Linked DNA regions of Homo sapiens: region 2 is linked to region 1. Evidence: promoter capture Hi-C in human tissues and cell types (Jung and others, 2019). All regions are on one chromosome and are shown on one strand. Each heading gives the region's core, a stretch centred on a gene start or on the middle of the fragment in contact. The rest is flanking DNA. Distances are from core to core; before and after follow the strand shown. Region 1 holds the start of PHACTR1 (phosphatase and actin regulator 1). Region 2 has its middle 110 kb from the start of TMEM170B.

Region 1 (7,025 bases), core at 2,118-4,617:
AACTTATTCACGAGAAAGAACTGAAAGTTCAATTACTCTAAAGCCAAAATAACTGATGATGGCTTAACATGTTTTCTCTGCCATCAAGATTTCAATATGAATAAAGCCTTAGATAAAATACTTGCAGTACCCCTATCAATTAATGACAAACTTTATAAAGAAAGGAAAGGAGGCCACACCTGTAATCCCAGCACTTTGGGAGGCTGAGATAGGAGAATCAATTGAGGTCAGGGGTTCTAGACCAGCCTGGGCAATATAGCAAGACCCCGTTACTATTAATTTTTTTAATGAAAGAAAAAAAAAGGAAAGAAATTTCTTTCGAGGGAGGGGTTGGGAGGTAAAGTGACTTATCAAGCAGAGGGAGCCACTGCTATTGAAACATTCTGGGGTCAGGTCTTTGCAAAAATGAATGAATATTGTTTTCTGTGGTTGTCTAGCACGCTAGCACTTCAACAAAGATTATTAATCTAGGTACCAAACCAACAGATCCAACATATCATCACACTTTAAGAAAGTCTCTAATATTTTAAAGTTAAAGTTAGTTGGGTTTATTAGCAGAAAAAGAATCTTCTCCAGGATGTCATTTAAGTAGAAGGCCAGACCTCAATAGTCCAACACAAATATAAAACATGGTCTTCTAGGGAGCTCTGGAATATAAGGTAATTAAACAAGGAAAATTCATTGTAAAATTATAAATAAGAAGAACTGCTTTATCTCTTAGCAAAGAGGATAAACCCAGGCTGGTTCCAATGGAAGTCAACAGCATAATGTAAAAAGAGCAAGTTACCTACTTACAAATCATGTGATCTCTCCTGGAATGTTTGGGTCTTTTGCCATCTAACACAATAAATAAGCACACCCCCAAAATAAATACAAGCTTATATCTTTACTTGCCTCTAGATTCCATCATGAAGCATACCTCTGTTTTGAATTAATTGAATACATCTGCTTGTGTATAGAATACTCACATATGTATCCTCTTCCAACCAAACTAAAAACAAAAAAGTATGTATCTCTCTACCATCTCACATATTTTTAATAATTCTAGATTATTTGTTTCAACCTTACAGTTCTACACTTTCATATTTTAATGCCATCAATGTAAAACATATGACTTGATTTTGGAATTTTTAAAATAATATTTTATTTCTAGGTCATAGAGATATTTTAACACTGAATTAAGTTTTGCAGAGCTGAAATCTTGAGAATGTTTTGGGTTGGATTGTTCAGTGCCGAATACGTGTTAGCTTGAATACTTGATGTAACCTTGCCTTCCTCTCTGATTATTTCTCAGAACAATAGACCATTATAAGTGTTGTTTTGGAGCAGTTTAAAGTTACAAAACAGAATTGAGCTAATCAGATTTTGACATTGGCTTTTGAACATTACTATGCTTTACCATATTTAAAAATAATTTTTGAACACACACACACACACCTATATGTAATCTATAGCTATATTCCCCAGAGAGTGAGATCATTTTTTGAAAATCTATTACAGAAGTTGGTCATATGATGCTACAGAACACAGTGATAATTATTTAGTAAAAGTAAGTCCCTGTTTGCAAATGAATAATCATCCCCTTCCCAAATACATTTCTTTCTTTGTTTCTTTCTTTTTTTTTTTTGAGATAGAGTCTTGCTCTGTCACCCAGGCTGGAGTGCAATGGCATGATCTCAGCTCACTGCAACCTCCACCTCCCAGGTTCAAGCGATTCTCCTGTTCAGCCTCCCAAGTAGCTGGAATTACAGGTACCCAACACCATGCCTGGCTAATTTTTTATATTTTTAGTAGAGATGGGGTTTCACCATGTTGGCCAGGCTGGTCTTGAACTCCTAACCTCAGGTGATCCACCCACCTTGACTTCCCATAGTGCTGGGATTACAGACATGAGCCTCTGTGCCCGGCCCCAAATACATTTCTTTAAGTTGAAATTTTCCCTCCTGAGTTTTCTTAAATTACGACCCTTTCATATTATTTGTTCACTTTGTAAAGTATTTTAAATTTCTCTTTCTTGGTCAACTCTCCAGAAATGACTGACTTCCAAATCCACCACCTACCCCCTGGGAATCAACTCTATTTTTCACATTTCCAGTTTAGCATCTCTTTCTTCAATCACACATTCATTTGCACTCACCTAAAGGTTTGGTCAGCAGCATAGACTTATACTCTCTCTCTCTCTCTTTCTCTCATCTATGAGTCATTACAATTTCAGTAGAATTACAATAACGAGTTCAGAACCTGTCGCCCACACCTCACAGTAAGTAAAAGGAACCAGAAGACAGCTTTCTCCTCTTATAAATGTCAAGTGTTCAGCATGTCTCCAGTGGGTGCTGAATAGAAAAGTAACCTTAAAGAAGTCAGTCCTTGGGTTGGAGCAAAGCTTTCAGAATTCAGAGTCCATAGTTGACTTTCCTACAAGGGCATATGATTGGTAGTTTCAGCTTCCTTTTTCATGAGGCTTAACTGTCTGCAGCACCGGCTTGGTGTCTGATCTGTTCTGATCGGGTGGGAGAGGGAGACCCCACAAAACAAACAGCAGAGGATTTTCAGGTTTGTTTCAAGGGCAGCCAGCCGAGCTGTGTATAGGGAGTGGGGGGACAGGGGTGGTGTTGATGGTCTTCCTTCCGAGGCTTATCAAATGTAAATGCTCTTTTCTTAACAAGCTGACCCACTGTACACCACACCATACTAATGAGCAATTCTGCTTGGTCAACAAAGGGTGCAAGAGGTTGTGGAAAACCCACAGTAGGGCTTGCATTTGGCTATCACTATGCCCTGCATGAAGATCTCAAAGTACTGTGCCTAAAAGTCATTACTGAGGTTTGGTAGGAAGAATATTAAACCAGAATAACTTGAGATACTAGCCAAAGTTTATTTTTGTTGTTGGTATTATTTTGTTACATTCAGACAGAGAGAAATGCATTTAGGCAGACTGGCATGATCTGCGCTGGATATTTGACCAGGCAATCAGAAGCAAGGAAAGGAAGAAAGCCAGGCAAGAGGGAAGGGGTGACATCAAACGTGCCCTCTGTATTTCGCTCCAGAAAACAGCTCACAATTATGACTACCTGCCTTGTTTTGCAGCTCAGCATAAAAGTGGTGTTGCACCAAACCCTACTGGAGCAGCCTTCATGATTAGAAAGTACTCCACACCTTGGAGAGCTGAGGAGACATGAGAATAATTTTAAATGCAAATTAAATTGAGGGGGTAGCAGAGAAGAACACATAAAAGACAGTAAAACAAAACCTTTCAATTTTCTTAAATTAGCAGTCTAATGTGTTCTAAAGAGCAGCTCCACTCAGATCTCTTCTTAAGGGTTGCATTTCATCACAGTATAAATGGGCAAATCCATCACTTCCCTCTGCTCAGTGCTCTTGAAGCGAGATTGAAGGGAAAATTAGAAGCTGTTCATTTGTGCTTGCGGGCTCAGAAGCGTCGCACTGCTTTGTTTTGTACTCTACCGTGTCCTGTTGAAAGGGGTCAACAAGTGCCGGTGAGTATCCGCTAACTTCCAGACTCTTCCTTTCAAATATCTTTTTGGCTAATTTTCCTTTGCCGGGGATGGGGGTTGTGGGGGGAGTGGGGATCTCCCACAAAATCTATGCTATAATATGTCTTTCAGAATCTGGGAAATTTCAGACAGCTTTTTAAGCTTCTTCCAGTGACTGATTTGCAGAAGGGAAGAGTTATTTTCAGCCTAGATGCCGGTGGCTGTTCTGTGTATTAATTATAACAGGGGAATGTCTAACGTATGTTAAGCTAAAATGGCCTTTCCCTAAACTCCCCCATTCCCTGCCACTCTTAGGCCAGCATTAGGGTAATAACTGGTGCCCCCACAAAAATTTCTAGACAACTTTTCTATATATTAAATTTTTAATCATTTCATATTCTATTCTTTTGTAGCTGCAAATCAAACTAAGATTTGGGATTATGAAAATAAACAATGAAGACATAAATCTGTTTTGTTTTTTTTTTAATGACTATGGCACTTCTCTGCCTAAGAGATAGGGGGCTGGGGAATAGCCCTGCATGATGTATGCATGTGGATTTGATGATTTTCTGCCAAAGTTTTACACGGGAAACTGGTAATTTTCTCCCTTCGCAGGGGAGGGTGCAGAGGCTGAGGCTGGCGTCACCTTCCGTTGCTAAGGTAACGTGCTCTGGCCATTTTATCTGATAAAGGAAGTCCAGTGGACTGTATGCATTATTCATCACTGTTCTAATCAAACAATCAAAATCGTTTACTTTCACCGGGAATATTTAGCAAGATCAAAGACACTCTGGCTGGAACGGCTCTTGTTTTACCGCTGACAGATAGCCTTTGATTTTTATTTTTTGCAGTAAGTATATTTGCTATTGGGGTACCTTTGGGTATTTTTAAAAGTTTTGTCTTACCGGACTTGGTTTCTTAAATTAAAATACATACTGTTAGAAAGAGAAACCAATTGGATTAGACTTCCAAGCTTGGTTTTAATGACTTTGTCTTGTTAATTCTTTCCAAAAAAATATTCTGCAGAAATAGAGATAATTCATTTGTGTGAGTATCAGGGAAAGGCTACATAGGCTTGAAAAAAGAACCCAACAGGCTGAATGTTTTCTGGGGAAGTATATTAGCTTTGTGACAGGCTAGTGTATGATAATATAGGGATCACTGTAATGCTGCAATCATTCTTGCTGCTCTACAAACCACAATTGTTTCTCAAAAATCAGCCCCTGCCAGGCACAGGCAGGTGACGATCCTCTAGCACTTTATAAAATGTGCTGAAGGGAATCGCCGGAAAGGAAGGAATTCAAAGCATTTGTACAGCAAATATGTCAGTGTGTGTCATAAACGCACGGCATCTATGAGTGGAGGCTCGGATTCCCAGGCAATTTTCCCTGCTCCAGGGGAATCCGAAAGTCCCAGGATGAGCTGAGGATCAACACTCACAACGGCTGACACTTAATGACGCTATTTATCAAATAGACCTTTTGAAAACTGATAGCATGTGAATTTAACAGTATATGTTCCAGAGAATATAAAGCAAGGAAAGGCTGGTATGTTATCTCTCTTTAGATCAGATCATCTGTTTTTCCTGAGTAGAATATATTACTTTTAATGAATGTTGGCTAAATGCGGCATTTTCTCACACGGTAGGAAAGCTATGCTGGGGGGTGGCTTTAGAATTGCAAATGTCAATCAAGTAGTAGAATATTATAATGGGATATTCTTATTCAAACATTTTAAAGTACATCTATATATACACTTTATACTTGACGTCTAAAATATTGTGGATTTTTTTTTCCTCTTTATAGGTGTTCCAGTGTTTTCTCTCAAAACTCTGTGTTTGGAACATCAAGGATGGATTATCCCAAAATGGATTATTTTCTGGATGTAGAGTCTGCTCACAGACTCTTGGATGTTGAGTCAGCTCAAAGATTCTTCTACAGTCAAGGAGCTCAAGGTAATAAAATAAGAAAAAGAAATTCCTCTTATTTGCACGTCGGTTTTATATGAACAGCCATGTAGGCTGTAGCTGTTAAAGCCTTGCTCTGAAAGTTTAATAACCGGTATTTCTAAGTTGATAACCTCTACCAAACTGCTGCTGGAATTGAGGCAGGTATATAATAGAATAAATAAATCCACACTTCTTGGATGTGGTTAAAAAAATGCCCAACTTTTGGTGTAAGTGCCCCTCAGAAAGCTATGTTAGAAATGATTTCCTACCACCTGTGTCCAACACTTATGTCCAAAAAGAATCAAGAATGCTCTTCCCCTTGGAGAATTTCCAGTTTGCAGCCACAGCTCTTGAAATCTTAGGGCATCATGACCCAGTGGACTGGAATCCAGCAGGATTAGGGGCTCTTGAGAGAAGCGCTGAGCTTCTCTATAGCTGCCTTCTCTATTTTAGCTGAATTCAGTTACCGCCTCAGATAATTACTAGTGTACATTCAGGGAGCAAGCCTCTTGGGAAGTGTGGTTGATGTGTCCGTTTTTATTACATGTTTCAAGATGGTCAGTTAGGTTCCAGTTTTCTTGCCCTTCTGTTGGGGTATTTAGAATGTTTTTCCACCACATTAAAGAAGAAGCTGGAGTGTTATATGGGATCTCGTGACTAGGAGGAGATTTTTTTTTTCACATATTTTCTGTTTTCCATGAAATGTTTAAGGTGTTCAGTCAAAGCAACCTGATGATGGGCATGTCCCAAATGATACAGGTGATGCATTGAGAAGGAGGACAATGTCCCTATTTTAAAATAGAAAAGCAGTTGAATTCTTAGAAGTCACAAAGCAGAGCTGAGAAGATAATGCAGTCAGTTTTTATAATTCTGGCATCTTTCACTTTAGATGGTGATGGGAACTTTACACACGCCACTGATAATATCCTGTCTGGGCTTTCCCAAGTGGTCCTCTGAATTGCTTTTACCTCCCTCTCAAGCCAACTTATCGTGGTAACCTCAGGGGGCTTGCAAGCCATCTCCTTCTCTGCTTTCATTTCTCAGAGCATGACCCAGTCTTCTTAAAGTCAAGAGGGGTTGGAAATGGTCTGGTTGATTTGCTGAGGTCTGTGTGCTCAACAGCAGAGCTGAAATTAGCAGAAGTGATGTAATAGCAAACTCTCCTCAAACTTCTGGGTGTATGGAGTCAACATGGCTGTTCCCAGCCACTTAAAGACACATAAAAATGTGAGTGAAGAAGGAAAAGAGTGAGAGACTGGCCAGGACCTCCAACCTCTTCTGGGTCTGCAAGTAAGAAAATGCTGGAAGTAGAGGTAGAATGGAGGTTGGAAGGGGGTGGGGGATGAAGTTAGGCTCAATTCCTTCTCCAGTCTCAAGGTCACACATTGCTATGTGATTGGTCCATTCGACTGGAATGAGACAATAATGCTCCGTAGCGGGGTCATCCCGCTGAACCGCATAGCTGTTGGCAAAACAGAAAGGGGGGCAGCAGTTAATTATAGAGAATAAAGATGCCCATTTTGTCTTGCTGTGGGGATGCTTTAAGCCTTTAAGAAGACCGTGGGCTCCAAGATCTTACGGAA
Region 2 (7,025 bases), core at 2,378-4,877, 1.1 Mb before region 1:
ATAACTTTCAGAGAGTTCAAAGAACAGTCAGGCCATTTTATCAGTACAATTGTTTTGGAGGTCACTGTTTTCTGAAAGAATTAAAAGTGGAAAGGTCCTCAGGGAGCATCTGTCCACCCTCCTCGTTTTACAGATGAGGGCGCAGAGGCTGGAGACCGAAGGCACTTGCCTCAGTTACTTAGTCATTTAGAGCAGGGTCAAGGTTGGGACGAGATTGCAAAGAGTCTGGGTGAAGTCCCATGCTCTTTCAATTAAATTTGCCAGCTAATTATGAGTATTTAATTAACCTCATAGTTTTTTAAAAGCTTTGATGAAATAAAATTCATATAACGGATAATTCACCCCTGTGACGCTTACAGATCAATGGCCTTTACCATATCCACACAGTTGTGCACCCATCAGCAGAAGCAATTTTTAGAACATTCTCATTATCCTAAAAAGAAATTTCACACCCCTTAGCTGTCAGTCCCTGATACGCCTATTTGGCTATTTCTGCATCTTCTTGGGAGAAATAGCCGTTCAGAATGCCTCCTAAGTCTTAGGCAACCACTAATCTGCTTTCTGTCTCCGCAGTTTGCCAGTTCTGGATGTTTCATAGTATGAAGTCATATAATATGGGGTCCTTTGTGACTGGCTTCCTTCACTTGATATGTTTGTGGGTTTTTTTGTTTTGTTTTTTTTCTTTTTGAGATGGAGTCTCGCTCTGTTGCCCAGGCTGGAGTGTAGTGGTGTGATCTCAGCTCACTGCAAGCTCCACCTCCCAGATTCAAGCAATTCTCCTGCCTCAGCCTCCCGAGTAGCTGGGACTACATCACTTGGCATGTTTTTAAGGTTCATTCATGTTGTAGCATGTATTTATACTTCATTTCTTTTTGTTGCTGAATAATATTCCATTGTATGGACATACCACATTTTATTTATCCTTTCATCAGTTGATGGACATTTGGGTTCTTTGTGCTTTTTTGCTATGATGAATAATGCTGCTATGCACATTTGTGTACAAGTTTTTGTGTAAACATGTGTTGTCATGTCTTTTGGGTATATACCTGGGAGGTGAATTACTGGCATCTATGGTAACTCTGTGTTTAATCATTCAAGGAACTGCCAGACTGGTTGACTGCAGAATGGTTTCCAAAGCAGCTGCAGCATTCTGCATTCCCATCAGCAGCATATTAGAGTTCTGATGTCTCCACATTCTCACCAACACTTGTTATTATCTGTCTTCTCTGTTAGAGTTATTTTAGTGGGTGTGAAGTGGTGACAGACAGGACTAGCCAGATTTCTTAGGCCGACTAAGAATTCCACAGCCTAGCTGGGAAAGGTGACCGCACCTACATTTAAACACTGGGCCTGTAACTCAACTCACACCCAACCAATTAGGTAGTAAAGAGGGCTCACTAAAATATAAATTAGGCTAAAGCAGGAGGATAAAGAAATAGTCAAATCATATATCGCCTGAGAGCACAGGGGGAGGGACAATGATCGGGATATAAACCCAGGCATTCGGGCAGGGAGCAGCAACCCCCTTTGGGTCCCTTCCTATTGTATGGGAGCTCTGTTTTCACTCTATTAAATCTTGCAACTGCACACTCTTCTGGTCCATGTTTGTTATGGCTCGAGCTGAGCTTTCGTTCGCGGTCCACTACTGCCGTTTGCCGCCGTCACAGACCCGCCTCTGACTTCCACCCCTCTGGATCCGTCAGGTTGTCCACTGTGCTTCTGATCCAGCGAGACGCCCATTGCCGCTCCCAATCGGGCTGGAGGCTCGCTATTGTTCCTGCATGGCTAAGGGCCCAGGGTTCGTCCTAATCGAGCTGAACGCTAGTTGCTGGGTTCCAGGGTTCTCTTCTGTGACTCACGGCTTCTAGTAGAGCTATAACACTCACCGCATGGCCCAAGCTTCCATTCCTTGGAATCCGTGAGGCCAAGAACCCCAGGTCAGAGAATAAGAGGCTTGCCCCCGTCTTGAGAGTGGCCCGCCATATCTTGGGAGCTCTAAGAACAAAGACCCGCACGTAACAGTGGTATCCTATTGTGGTTTTGATTGATCCTTGGGGGCTAATGACACCCAACATCTTTTCATGTGCTTGCTGGCTACTTGTATGTCTTCTTTGGTAAAATGTCTGTTCAGCTTCTTGCCTGCTTTCAACTGGGTTATTTGTCTTGAGTTGTCATAGTTCCCTATATATTCTAGATACAAGTCCCTTATTAAATGTATGATTTGTGAAACTTTTCTTCCACTCTATGGGCTTTTTCACTTTCTTGATGGTGTCTTTAAATCATATATGTTTTTAATTTTGATAACCTCGTAGGACTTTAAACGGTGAATTATTTTTTCTTTGCCTTTGGGTCATTAACAAATAGACATTAATAAACGTGGTGATAAAAATGTTTGCTAAGGAATACATGGTGAAGTGATCTGTAAGAGGGAATTCCAGATTAATATAAAAGGCAAAATGAATGGATAGAAACTGTAGCATTAGACGAAACAGCAGGAAGTAGGGTACGGTGGGAGAAGATGTGGTGTGGAGAAGGGCAGTCCTATATATGCAGGAATCACTCCAGTTGCCGAATACCAAAAGGCCCCTCTTCAGTGTCATTGTCAGAAGGAAATATCCTTGAGGGACAGAACTCACGTAATTAAGGACAACCACAAGGAGATTATAGTTTATAATTTTCTGCATGTTCTTAGAATAAACAGACCCCCCATAGCAATAACTACTTATTAATGAAGTCAGGTGTGCATGCTCATTCCTAGCCTGGTTAGTCTATGGCATGCACATAACACAGAATTTTTGATGGATGAATATTTATTTATGCATGAGTAGCACGGATATTACACTTGCAGATGAAGCCAGAGTTCCAGGTTGCTATCATCATTGTATGAATAGAATGGAGTTGTTTTTCCTTATTATTTTCCTTGTCTTTCTCCCTTCACCTCCCCCAACCTTGCCACTTCCCATCTAAACACAGGAATATACTAATCAGGGAAATATGCACTGCTGTTTAGCAAAGGGGTCAAACCCATTTGGATGGAATTCCAGGCTCAGCAGGCTAACAATGGCAGGAAACTGGGCCCTCAAGCCGGCTGCACCGGGGGGCTGTTGAGCGATAGCTTGTTGAAAGAGGCGGCCCTGGGGTATGCTACTTTGGCTTGCTTTATGTTTGGAATGCTGCGATTGTTCCAGACACAATGAGGGATCTGTCTGTCCACACAGGAGCAGTTATAATTACAGGAACAGAAGCTAAATTACTGCTCTTAATTGCAAATGATTCCATTGCAGCCTGTATACAACTCTACTAATTTGTCCTCTGGGCTTTATGGGGGCAGGCAGGATTTTTAATTTAATGTCTTTGGTGATTATGCTTTATGTCCACTTCAAATTGTAATGCCCTGCCGGTGAGGCCAGGGTCCCTTCTGCTTCAAGTTCATACCCTTCTGTACTACCTGTCTTGTTGATTTTGATGATTCAGGCCAGTACATGATGTTGCCTCTGCTGAGAAGACAGGGTGTTCAAAGTGCATCTGACTCTGGTGTCCTAAAACCTTGCTTTGTTGCTGCCTTTAAGGGGCAATCATAACATCCTGTAGAGAGGTCTTCTTGTGTATGTGACTTAGGAAACACTTCCTACTTAGGAAAGAAGGTTGACATCTGGCCTGGCATTGTGTTCTGGAAAAGGCAGCTGCAACAGATGTGAGTTTATAGCAAACATCATCAATAAGTGGATGCTCTTTTATTGTGGAGTAGGATCTCTGTCCCTTTGTCTGTTAGGAAGTGCTTTGGGAAGATTCACCACCCTTGATAATTTAAACATCATTCCTTCATTCATTCATTCATTCAGCAACTGTTATTTGAAGGTCTACTATGTGCCAGTATTAGGAGTGGGATGAAGAGTAGAGTAAGAGAAGGCCTACGCTATGAGCTTACAGTCTCTGTAGGGATCCAAACACATAAATGAGTAAGGCAGTGTGATAGTGTCATGGCAGAATTTTACACGTTTCATGGCCTGCAGATAAGAAGTGAAGAATATTCCCAGAAGCAGCCACAAACCTTTCCTTCCAGAACATTGTCCAGAACTGAAACATGGACCAATATTAAAACAGTCACTGGTAAGTGGATAGGCTAACTCTTCGATCAATCAGGCCTGCCCAAGGAAAAGGGAGAAGAGACAGCTTTCCTAGAAGCATAGGGCAAAGGTGGGAGATTTAGGTGTCTGAACGAAATCCAGTCTCTGTTTAAAGAAGAAGACAGAATGATGCTGAGAGACACCCAATAATATCCATCACCTCAGACAGACATGTCAGAGAGCTCACTCTGGCAGCAATGTAGGGATTGGGGATGATGGGGCAGATTGAAGGCAGGGACATAGTTGGGAGGTGCTGTGGGATTCAGGGAGGGGGCTGAGAGCTGGAACTGAGGCAGAGATACGTGCCAAAGAGAGGAGGGATCAGTTCTGAGAGCTGCAAGGAAGAAGAATTTATAACAGTGATTCTTAAGCACTGGGGGAACGTTGGCCCCAAATAATCTGATGCTAGCAGTTTTACATTAAATGTCAAGCTTGCCAACTTGATCCATTAGCATCAGTGTGACCTCCATGACCAGGAAGCTGGACTGGTCAGCCCTTTGTTGGGCCACTCTTGGTTCTGATGGAACCAGAGATTTTTCTTTTCTGGGGCGAGTTGGGGACAGAGTCTCGCTCTGTTGCTCAGGCTGGAGTGCAGTGGTATGTTTTCGGCTCACTGCAGCATCTGCCTCCCGGGTTCAAGCAATTCTCCTGCCTCAGCCTCCTGAGTAGCTGGGATTACAGGTGTGCGCAACCACGCCTGGCTAATTTTTGTGTTTTTAGTAGAGACGGGGTTTTGCCATGTTGGCTAGGCTGGTCTCCAACTCCTGACCTCAAGTGAGCTGCCCGACTCGGCCTCCCAAAGTGCTGGGATTACAGGTGTGTGCCACCACAACTAGGTAATTTTTTGTATTTTTAGTAGAGACAGGGTTTCACCACATTGGCCAGGCTGGTCTCGAACTCCTGACCTCAGGTGATCCACCCGCCTTGGCCTCCCAAAGTGCTGGGATTACAGGTGTGAGCCACCATGCCCAGCCGCACCAGAGATTTCTTTTTTTTGTTTGTTTTTGAGACAGTTTCACTCTGGAAGTTGCCCAGGCTGGAGTGCAATGGCGCAATCTCAGCTCACCACAACCTCCACCTCCCAGGTTCAAGCGATTCTCCTGCCTCAGCCTCCCCAGTAGCTGGAATTACAGGCATGTGCCACCATGCCTGGCTAATTTTGTATTTTTAGTAGAGATGGGGTTTCTCCATGCTGGTCAGGCTGGTCTCAAACTCCCGACCTCAGGTGATCCGCCGGCCTCGGCCTCCCAAAGTGCTGGGATTATAGGCATGAGCCACCGCGCCCAGCCATTGGAGATTTCTAACCACATCATGCAGGAGGAGGATGGATGAGAAGCAGCATTGATCAGGCACTGGCTACCTATATCACCCACTGCTTCTATAAGTACTCGGCTCAGCCCTCATAGTGATGCTCTGATGCCCATCAAGCAGATGGGGAAACTGAGGCATTTATGCAGTTCAATGTCATACCCCTGGAAAACAGCAGCTATGGGATTCCAGCTTGGGTTTGTGTGAGTCATAACATGACTCTGTCTTCCACCGGTGCTGCCATATTTGGTCCACACGTGAATTGCTGTGATTACCAGCTTTTTTCTTTCCTGGAGACCTTTGGTGGCCTCTATTTATGCAGCTGAAGGAGACACTTACGACCTCATTCCTGACAGTTTTGGGAGCTGACAGCAGAACATTCAAAGAATGACATCAAGTGGCTTTCCTCAGGGTCATTTCCTGCTAGTGATCTCTGCAAAGATCACATTCTTTAAGGATGTGTGGGGGTCAGAAACAGACCCTATTCTGTCAGGCGAGAGATGCCTGGAGCAGCTGTAATGGGCAGACGTGTGTGTGTGTGTGTCTGTGTGTCTGTGTGTGTGTGTGTGTGTGTGTGTGTGTGTGTGTACATCCTCTGTGACATGCTTTGCTGGTGAATACAACCCCTCCTCCCCCGGCCACACTTCGCTAAAAACAAACCAGGTCTGCTGGGGTGCATGACTCATGCTTGAACCGGAGTCTTCACCCTGAGACAATAATTCTCATTTTAAAAGCAAATGCTGAAGTCAACAGCTGCTGGGGTGACTTTGCCTATCTTAATTTGGCTTGTTAGAGACAGCACCTCCTTAGCTGCTTGAAGGAGAACTTAAGTGGACCTTCCATGACTCTGTTCCTTTTCCTATCCAGGGCTCACATAAGAGTTGTCTGCAGCTGGAGACATGAAACAGTGATAGGATTTGGAGTCAGGGTGTCCTGATTTCATGTGTGTGTTCTGCCCTTTTATTACCACACGGTGGTGGGCAATTTACCCACCTGAGCATGAGGTGCCTCACCTGTGGAATGGATGGAACCCTGCTGTATTGGAGAATGTTCACCCATTCAAGATAACGCATGTGAAGCACCTGCCATACAGTAGATGCTCAATCACGTGGATGTTAGCATTGACTTTGTTGCATGTTCTCTGCTTAGCTATCATTTCTCTCTTCCTCCTTTATTTTGCATTAATTTATTTCTGTAAAGGAGGAAGCTGCTGGGCACAGTGGCTCACACCTGAAGTCACCACTTTGAGAGGCCAAGGCGGGAGGATCACCTGAGGTCAGGGGTTCAAGACCATCCTGGGGAAAATAGTGAGACTACCGTCTCTAAAGAAACATTTTAACAAATTAGCCAGGCATGGAGGTGTGCTCCTTGTAGTCCCAGCTACTCGGGAGGCTGAGGCAAAAGGCTCACTTGAGCCCAGGATTTCAAGTTACGATTGTGTCACTGCACTCCAACCTGGGTAACAGAACAAGACCCTCTCTCAAAAAAATTTTTAAAGGAGGAAGTCATCAGTTATGTATATCACACAGATTCACTGGTGACTTTGCCACCTTTTCCATCCCTTTGAAGTTCTGCATCGCCGGTGGGAGG

What was found. Contacts are between HindIII fragments. The study calls those that stand out against the background at their distance.
Region 2: a fragment that was not itself captured here is called in contact with the fragment with the promoter of PHACTR1 in region 1 in 1 of the 25 tissues and cell types used here (lymphoblastoid cells).

The regions. Positions count from the first base shown.
Region 1 is chr6:12,713,400-12,720,424 of GRCh38, forward strand. PHACTR1 (phosphatase and actin regulator 1) reads left to right here and starts at 3,368. Exons shown (of 15, transcript NM_030948.6): 1 at 3,368-3,497; 2 at 4,110-4,344; 3 at 5,300-5,448. The coding sequence starts at 5,346. All of the region lies in intron 1 of LOC107984015 (a long non-coding RNA gene), which reads right to left. The HindIII fragment of the contact is 3,467 bases long and covers 3,020-6,486 here.
Region 2 is chr6:11,647,401-11,654,425 of GRCh38, forward strand. No RefSeq gene overlaps it. Among named protein-coding and RNA genes, the nearest start is that of TMEM170B, 110 kb to the left of the region's middle. RefSeq lists enhancers at 2,730-3,335, 3,336-3,941. The HindIII fragment of the contact is 5,050 bases long and covers 1,103-6,152 here.